Linked DNA regions of Homo sapiens: region 2 is linked to region 1. The links are contacts of gene promoters, found by promoter capture Hi-C in blood cells and fetal thymus (Javierre and others, 2016). All regions are on one chromosome and are shown on one strand. The core of a region is centred on a gene start or on the middle of the fragment in contact, and the rest is flanking DNA. Distances in the headings are between cores, read along the strand shown.

Region 1 (4,198 bases), core at 310-2,809:
GCCCTGCCCGCCCCATCCTATTCCAAAAGCGCAGGACTAGCGCCCTTGCACCCTTGGTCACTCACCCGGCAGTGGCCGGTCGGAGAGGTCCTTTCTCCGGCTCTGGTCGGAGATGAAGCGGCGACCCTCTGCAAAAACGAGACCTGGGGCTCAGCGACAGCCTGGCCCGGGACAACCCGGGCTTAAACCTCAGCTCCTCCCGGCACAGCGCAGTCCCCGGGCGTGGGGAGGGGGCAGGTTGCTCCAGGATAGGGTCGCGCGGGGCTGCCGAGTTTCCAGCGCTCCCAGCGCAACCCCGGGCTGAGCCAGGGGCCCTGGAGCTCTGGAGGAAAGCCCCGCGCCTGACCGGACGCCGCAAGGGCGCTTTGGAGCGGAGGTCGGGTTACTGAGATATTTCCCAGGCAACCCGAGTCCCCATTTGGACCAAGAGAAGCAACCCTCCAGTTTTGGATGGAGAATTTCTAATAAGGATGGAGGATTTCCAATAATCAGGGACTCTTCCCCTCTCCCACCCCTCCCTCACCTACCGGTCTCTTTGATGGCCTCGATGATTTAAGGGAATAAACTCGACATTATTCTCTCTCCATAACTCTCCATCTATCTGTTCCTGACTCCTAGGGGTCTTCCATTATTGTAGGAAGAGCGAAATATTTGGAACTTACGTGCCCCTTTCAGGTAGAGCATAGCTTGAGGAGTCCAGTTCCTTCTCTCCAACAGTCTCTATAGCCCGGGGGAAGGGAAGAGCAGTTAATAAAACATTGCAGCTCAGTCCTCTATTACAGCAAAATAAAGGAAAAAGAAGAGAATAAAACAAGAAGGAAGAAAGAAAGAGCAGAGTGGACACACAGTGCGCATTGTTTTAAAATTTTTTATTTTGCATTTGATTACCTGCGGAGCGCAGCTGGAGTTTCCCAGGAAAACAAACACCAGGAAAAGAGCCAAGGTTGTTGCTGCCAGACTTCTGAGTCCCTATATGAAGCGATCAACCAGAAAGGGTCATTTCTGTGCCAATAGGATCTTCTGCTTCCTTCCTTGACGCCTGGACAATTATAAACCCCCTTACTTCTCGCAATATTCTGTTTTAATACTCAGTTTTCTGGAGGTGTTTCCCTTCTACCTTCTAGTTAATTCACAAAGAGTCCACTTGAAAAAACGTATTTAGAAACATATTATTTGTATTACTTCACCCAAATGAAGAATAAGTAAATACGTGAATTTTTTTCTTAGTAAAATCAAATGATTCTGTTATTCTAAAGGCGTATCGTTCAAATATCCTTTAAACTCTAAAATCCTTATTAAACATGAAATAGGTAAAATGCTATAAAACGTTTTAAAAAATAGCTAAGAAGTCTCAAGTTAATAAAGCCTTTACTTACCTTCATGTTCTGCGTCTTTTCAGAACCCTGAAATAACTATAACTTTATCTGTGAGTTTTCGACTCTTGCTCTGAAATTGGAGCTTTTAAAATCTTGGTGTTAAGGGCACCTCCCCATCTGGAGTAGAGTTTGGGAGTCCACAGGGACATCTTGTCAGTCTTCAAGCAAGATTGAGAATCTGATGACTCCTCCAGGGAGCTTCATTGCAGGAAGTAGAGGAATGATTGATGGGCAGAAATTATTTGTTTAAATACTGATTGCATCACCCAGGAGGCCTTCAGAATGTGTCAGCATCATTGGCCTTGCTTTTCCTACTAGCTGCCCAAAGTAACATGTTATTATTATTATTAATGAAAACAATCAATAGTCCAAGGCAGAATCAAAAGTAAAAGAATAAATCAGAAAACTTTTCTTGGGTAACTAGCCATCAGTCTATCACTGATGGCTAAAGATGTATGAAAAGGTTTGGGAATCTCAATGGAATTTGACATCAGTCATTCACTTAATTATCAATTCATTCTGTTGTTTAGCAAATATTTATTGAGTGCCTATGAGACACACAATCCTTGTATTTCAAGGGACACAGCCATGCACTGAAAAGACATGGTCTCTGCTTTGATCTAAGTTACCTACTAGTTAAGGTACACAGTAAACTGATGAATAGATAAATAAGACACAGTAGTTACCCCTTAATCGTAGGTGTGTGTGGGGTGGAGGAGCATGTTTCAAGACCCACAGTGGATGCCTGAAACCACTGATACGTATATGCCTTATTATACTATTTTTTTTTATCTGTTCACCAAGATGGTTACTAACTGATTAATGGGAGAGTGGTGTTTACATATGGACATGCTGGACAAAAAGATGGTTCATGTCTTGGGTGGGCTGGAGCTGGACAGTGAGAGATTTCAACACCCTACTCAGATTTAAAGCTCACAATTTAAACTTATTAATTCTGGAATTTCCCATTTAATATTTTCAGACTGTAGTTGACCATGGGTAACTGAAACCATGGAAAGTGAAACCGTGGATAAGCAGGGACTACTGTAACTACAGAATGTTTTAAATTGTTAAGTAAAAGTAAGCAAGGTGATGTGATAGGATAAGTGGTGGGCTACTTTAGGGAAGGTTAAAAACAGAGGGTAGTCTTGAAGGATAAGGTGAAGTAATGGGAGAAGCTGGGCAGGAATTAGTATTCCAGGCATTCTCAATAGAAGAAAGAAAAGCAAAATCTGTGGACAGCAAAGAGCATGACTTGCTTGGGGACTAGGAAAGAGGCCAATGGAGGCAGCGTTGTGTGGGTGAACGGGGGAGGTGCTTTGAAATGAGATTGGAGAAGAAGAAATGGGCCAGTTGATGTGGAAATACGATTATAAGCAATAGATGATGATGGCTTACACTGGGATGGTACACACAGGGAAAGAAGAGCTGTAAATGAATTTGGAATACATGTTGTGGAGGTAGAAAATATAGAACTTGTATATAAAAGGGATATGAAAGTGTGAGAAAAATAAATCAAGGATGATTCTTAGGTTTATGGATAAAACTGTGGGTAAATTATGAAGTAATTTACTGAAATTAGAGAAACTTCTTAAGAAGCAAGTTATGAGAGGGAAATTAACACTTGCCATATAGGCATATTAAAATTAAAATGTATATTAAAAATATCCAAGTACAAGTACAAAATAGAAGGTTAGAAATGCAAAACTTGATAGAGGTCAGCCAAGAGGTCACCAGCCTACAGATTTTCTTTTTGGTGGGGGGCAGAAATGATTAGCTTTAAGAATTTTAAGAATTCTAAGAATTTTACAACCAGTAAAGGGATGAGATTAAACACAACACTTAGGGAGTGAATAGGGCTAAAGAAGAGTGGCAGGGACAGAGCTATGAAAACAAACGCATAGAGAATGAGCAGAGGAAGAGCCAGAAAAGGAGGTTGAGGTAGAGTCAGAAAGAAAGGAGAAATTCCAGGGGACCCTGATATCATGGAAGCCAAGTGAAGATCCAGTAGTATTGGGAGGTCAAGCAACATTAGCTCCAAGAAACATCCACTGGATTTGGAATATGATGGTTTTGAGGATAGAAGCAAGATTGGAGTTGGTTGAATAGTGAATATGATATGATAAATTAAAGCCAAGAATAAACAATCTCTTTTACAGATGTCACAAAAGAAGGGAAAGGAAAAAATGAGAATTTTTTTTACTGTTATTATTATTGTTATTGTTATTTTAAAGACAGGGTCTCACTATGTTGTTCAGGCTGGGCTGAAACTCCTGTCCTCAACTGGTCCTCCCATGTCAGCCTCCCAAACCTCTGGGATTATAGGCATGCTTGGCCTGTGAAATCTTTTTTTTTTTTTTAAAAGATAAGATAGAAGATTTGTTATACTTTTTGGGAAACCTTTCATTTCTAGGAAATTCCTAAAATTCCCTGAATTATGAATTATGAAATTATGAATCTTTTTGGGAGGCAGAGTGTTTCTTCTATTGTACAAACTGAAAATGCCAGATAGTCAGTTTTCTAGCCTCCCTATCAGGGAGAATGTGGGCATATGACACGGGCTTCACCAATCAGATGAGCATGCTTAGATGGGGAATCTCATGCCAGGATGGAAGAAGTGCTCGGGTGAAGCAGGGGTTGTAGTAAGATTGAGTTTCTGGAGTAGTCTTAGCTACGGTGCTAGTGGCAAGTTCCAGCATCCAGTGCTGTAGCAGTGGTGATGCCAGCTGCAGTGTCCTTTTAATAAAATCTTTGTTTTGCCCAAATCAGCCATGTTTATTGGTTTCTGTTGATGTGACAACTAAGAAACAATTTGTAAGACA
Region 2 (4,053 bases), core at 985-3,484, 140 kb before region 1:
ACACAGCTGCCTGGAAATGGCTTTTAGAAACCCATTAAGCTGACTGATTTCAACCACTGGTGATGGATGAGGGTAGGAACAAATTCCTTCGTGGTACACGAGAACACTGCAAGAAGTTACATTTTAACCTGTCTGAAATAATGAGTAAGACATAATAATTAACGTAAATGCTCAATCCACTCTCAGAATGCCTGAGGCAAATGTTCTCTCCAACGTTTTCTACTCTAAAAGTAAAATAAACTCCTGAGTCCACTGATATTGCCTAAAAACCTAGGTAGTGCCTGATATATTTTTAAGTATTTTTAATATTTACTTTCTAGTTAGAAAAACAATCTATCCACAATGCACAAATTGCTTAACATGAATAAATGTGTATTTTTAAAAAAATACTCATATTAATATTAAAATTGCTAAAATTTGAATAAGGTCCCTAGTTTAGCTTACAGTAGTGTACCAGTGTTCATTTTCTGATATTAACAAGCTCAATGATAAAGTAAGTTGTTATTATGGGAGGAAGCTGAGTGATGGATACATGGGAACTCACCAAACAGTTTTGGCAACTTATTCTGAGTTTAAAATTAACACAAAATAAAACGTTTTTTAAAATCACCCTTACTTTTAGTATTTTGATATTATTAAAGCAAACTAAATATGGCCCGAGAAAGACTCCATACTTCTATATTTGAGTCCTTGTGGATGAACTGTAACCTAGCTTAGTAGTCAGACAAAATTGAAAACGTAACTTCAGAGTATGCATCTGTAACTATAGCTAAGTCTTGGCCATTCCAGAGGCCATACTTCAACCATTCATACACTGATGAGTGTTAAAACTGTGTTCAAATAAGGCAAACACCGAGCTGTAACCAATCCAGCCATTCTGTACCTCACTTCCAATTTCTGTACGTCATTTCCCTTTTTTTTTGTCTGTAAGTCTTCTTCCACCACATGGCTGCGCTGGAGCCTCTGTGAATCTGCTGAGATTTGGGGGGGCTGCCCGATTCGCAAAACATTCATTGCTCAATTCAACTCCTTTAAATTTAATTTGGCTGAGTTTTTCTTTTATCAGTATTGAAATAACAATGACATTGTAATTTCAAACTGGTCAAAATAATACATCAGTTAGGACCTCTTTTATCGTCAGTGAAGTTTGCTTACCTAAACTAGCCTAGGGACGAGGCTGCATTATGTTGCCTTTTTTTTTTTTTTTTTTTTTTTTTTTTGAGAGAGAGTTTTGCTCTGTCACCCAGGCTGGAGTGCTGGAGTGCTGGAGTGCAGTGGTGTGATCTCGGCTCACTGCAACCTCCGCCTCCCAGGTTCAAGCGATTCTCCTGCCTCAGCCTCCCGAGTAGCTGGGACTACAGGTGCCCACCACCACCCACCATGCCTGGCTAATTTTTATATTTTTAGTAGAGACAGGGTTTCACCATATTGGTCAGGCTGGTCTTGAACTGACCTTGTGATCTGCCCGCCTCGGCCTCCCAAACTGCTGGGATTACAGGCCTGAGCCACTGCGCCCGGCTTACGTTGCTCTTGATGCAGAAACTCGAATGCCATCACTGGCTTCTCTTTTGCTGTCTCTCGTCTTATTCCCCTTGTTTGGCTCCAGTTTTAGATAGGTTTTTCCTTTGGGAAGCTTTGATGTATTTAAGGAGAGGAAGAGATGAGAGGATAGAAAACCCCGAGGCTGTTTTCAGAAGTAAAGTGAATAGTTGCTAAGTAGAGAAACAAAACAAGAAGAATGCTCACTTTGGTAGAGGAGCAGATAATGGAAAGTTTAAAAAATGTGAAAGTATACACAACCAATAATCATAGTTATACAAATTTATAACAAAACATCACTTTTTTTCCTACTGCCTCTATAATTGCAGAAGAGAACCAAATACCCTTTTCATCTGACAAACTGGACAAATAAAATTTAGTAATATGCAATATGATGACAGTATAGTAAGACATATGCAGATGGGGTTTGGAATCAAAGGGTACAGCCCTTCCAAAAAACTGTTCTACTCTTTTACCCAGGAATTTCACTTTCAGAGACCTACCCAAGCAATGACAAATACAGATGACTACAATGTACAATGATATCTATACAACATTATTTATCATAGTAAAAAGCATAATGTCTCAAAATATGGGAACAGTTAAATACATCATGGTGTTTCTGAATGATTGAATATTTAGTAACCATTTTTTAAAAGGAAACAAATCTGTATAAATCTGTATGTTAAGAATGATCCGGCGGGGTGCAGTGGCTCACACCTGTAATGCCAGCACTTTGGGAGGCTGAGGCGGGAGGATCATCTGAGGTCAGGAGTTTGAGGTCAGGAGTTTGAGACCAGCCTGGTCAACATGGTGAAACCCTGTCTCTACTATAAATACAAAAATTAGCTGGGCATGGTGGTGGGTACCTGTAATCCCAGCTACTCAGAAGGCTAAGGCAGGAGAATCGCTTGAACCCAGGAGACGGAGGTTGCAGTGAGCACAGATTGCACCACAGCACTCCAGCCTGGGTGAGAGCGCAAGACCCTGTCTCAGGAAAAAAAAAAACAAAAATTTAAACACAGAGAGAGAGAGAGAGAGAGAGGGAGAGAGAGAGTCTGCTTACTAGTTGTGTGATCTTGGTCAGGTTATTGACCTTCTGTGATTCAGTTTCCCCATATCCTTAAAATAAGAAAAATAAAAGTACCCACCACATAGGGTTGAAATGAGGATTACGTAAGTTAATATAAGTAAAGTAAGCATTACTTATACTTGGTTCATGTGAGCACATTATTACATGCAGTTAATGCATTGCATGCCTGGCACATAGTACTATTTTCAATAAATGAAAGCTTTACACAAATCATATAATACAAATTCCTGGATGTGTATTGCTTTGCAGGACTCTAACAAAACTTTAGTCAAGTGAACTCTAGGGTTTTCTAGCAAAAAAATCTCAGTAATAACACTTTCCACCTCACAAATTAATGTATATTTAAAGGACTAGATACTCATGCATATTTTAAATGAGCACAGGGAGAGAAAGGAATCAGCAGCTGGACTTTCGGACTACAACTCAAGAAGTCAGAAAGAATGAGTAGTTGCTCTGAGGATCAGGACTGGGGATGAGAGAGAGGCGGCGGACTGTTTTTTTTTTTCCTTTATTTATTTTTTTTGATACAGAGTCTCACTCTGTCACCCATGCTGGAATGCAGTGGCGTGATCTCAGCTCACTGCAACCTCCACCTCCTGAGTTCAAGCGATTCTCCTGCCTCAGCCTCCTGAGTAGCTAGGACTACAGGCAAATGCCACCACACCCAGCTAATTTTTTTTTTTTTTTTTTTTTTTGAGACAAAGTCTTGCTCTGTTGCCCAGGCTAGAGTGCAGTGGCATGATCTCGGCTCACGGCAACCTCTGCCTAGGGAGTTCAAGTGATTCTCCTGCCTCAGCCTCCCGAGTAGCTGGAATTACAGGCGCCCACCACCGTGCTTGGCTAATTTTTGTATTTTTAGTAGAGATGCGGTTTCACCAGCTTGGCCAGGCTGGTCTCAAACTCCTGACGTCGTGATCCACCTGCCTCGGCCTCCCAAAGTTCTGGGATTACAGGCATGAACCGCCGCACCCCGCCCATGCCCGGCTAATTTTTTGTATTTTTAGTAAAGACGGGGTTTCACCATGTTAGCCAGGATGGTCTCGATCTCCTGACCTCGTGATCCACCTGCCTTGGCCTCCCAAAGTGCTGTGATTACAAGCTGGCCGGGACTGTTTGTTTTATTACCAGCATTTGCATTCTGATTAACCTTTTATTTTCTAAAACATAAACTAAACAAATAAAAAAAAATCTGTGTTTTGAAATGTGTACAGCTAGAACATAGAAAAGCTACTATCTCCTTCAGGATCTCTGATATAAGAAAGTAAGTATTTGCAACTGCAGTCCTTGGCACCAGAAAGGATAATAGTTCATGGTTCCAGGAAGGGGAAATATAGATGCCATCAGACGACTTCACACAATGCCCAGAGAATGTAGACTAGGTGCTTCTGTTCCCAGAAGCAGCACCCAGACAATGAGAAGAA

What was found. The method cuts DNA at HindIII sites, captures the fragments that hold promoters and counts their contacts. A CHiCAGO score of 5 or more calls a contact.
Region 2: a fragment that was not itself captured here is called in contact with the fragment with the promoter of SPX in region 1 in 1 of 17 cell types (megakaryocytes); the score reaches 6.1 in megakaryocytes.

The regions. Positions count from the first base shown.
Region 1 is chr12:21,523,657-21,527,854 of GRCh38, reverse strand. It overlaps SPX (spexin hormone), which reads right to left and starts at 1,559. Exons shown (of 6, transcript NM_030572.4): 1 at 1,377-1,559; 2 at 889-969; 3 at 663-720; 4 at 66-128. The coding sequence starts at 1,382. The HindIII fragment of the contact is 15,623 bases long and covers 1-4,198 here.
Region 2 is chr12:21,662,962-21,667,014 of GRCh38, reverse strand. The region is part of intron 1 of KCNJ8-AS1 (KCNJ8 antisense RNA 1); the gene reads right to left. Among named protein-coding and RNA genes, the nearest start is that of KCNJ8-AS1, 2.7 kb to the right of the region's middle. The HindIII fragment of the contact is 1,198 bases long and covers 1,636-2,833 here.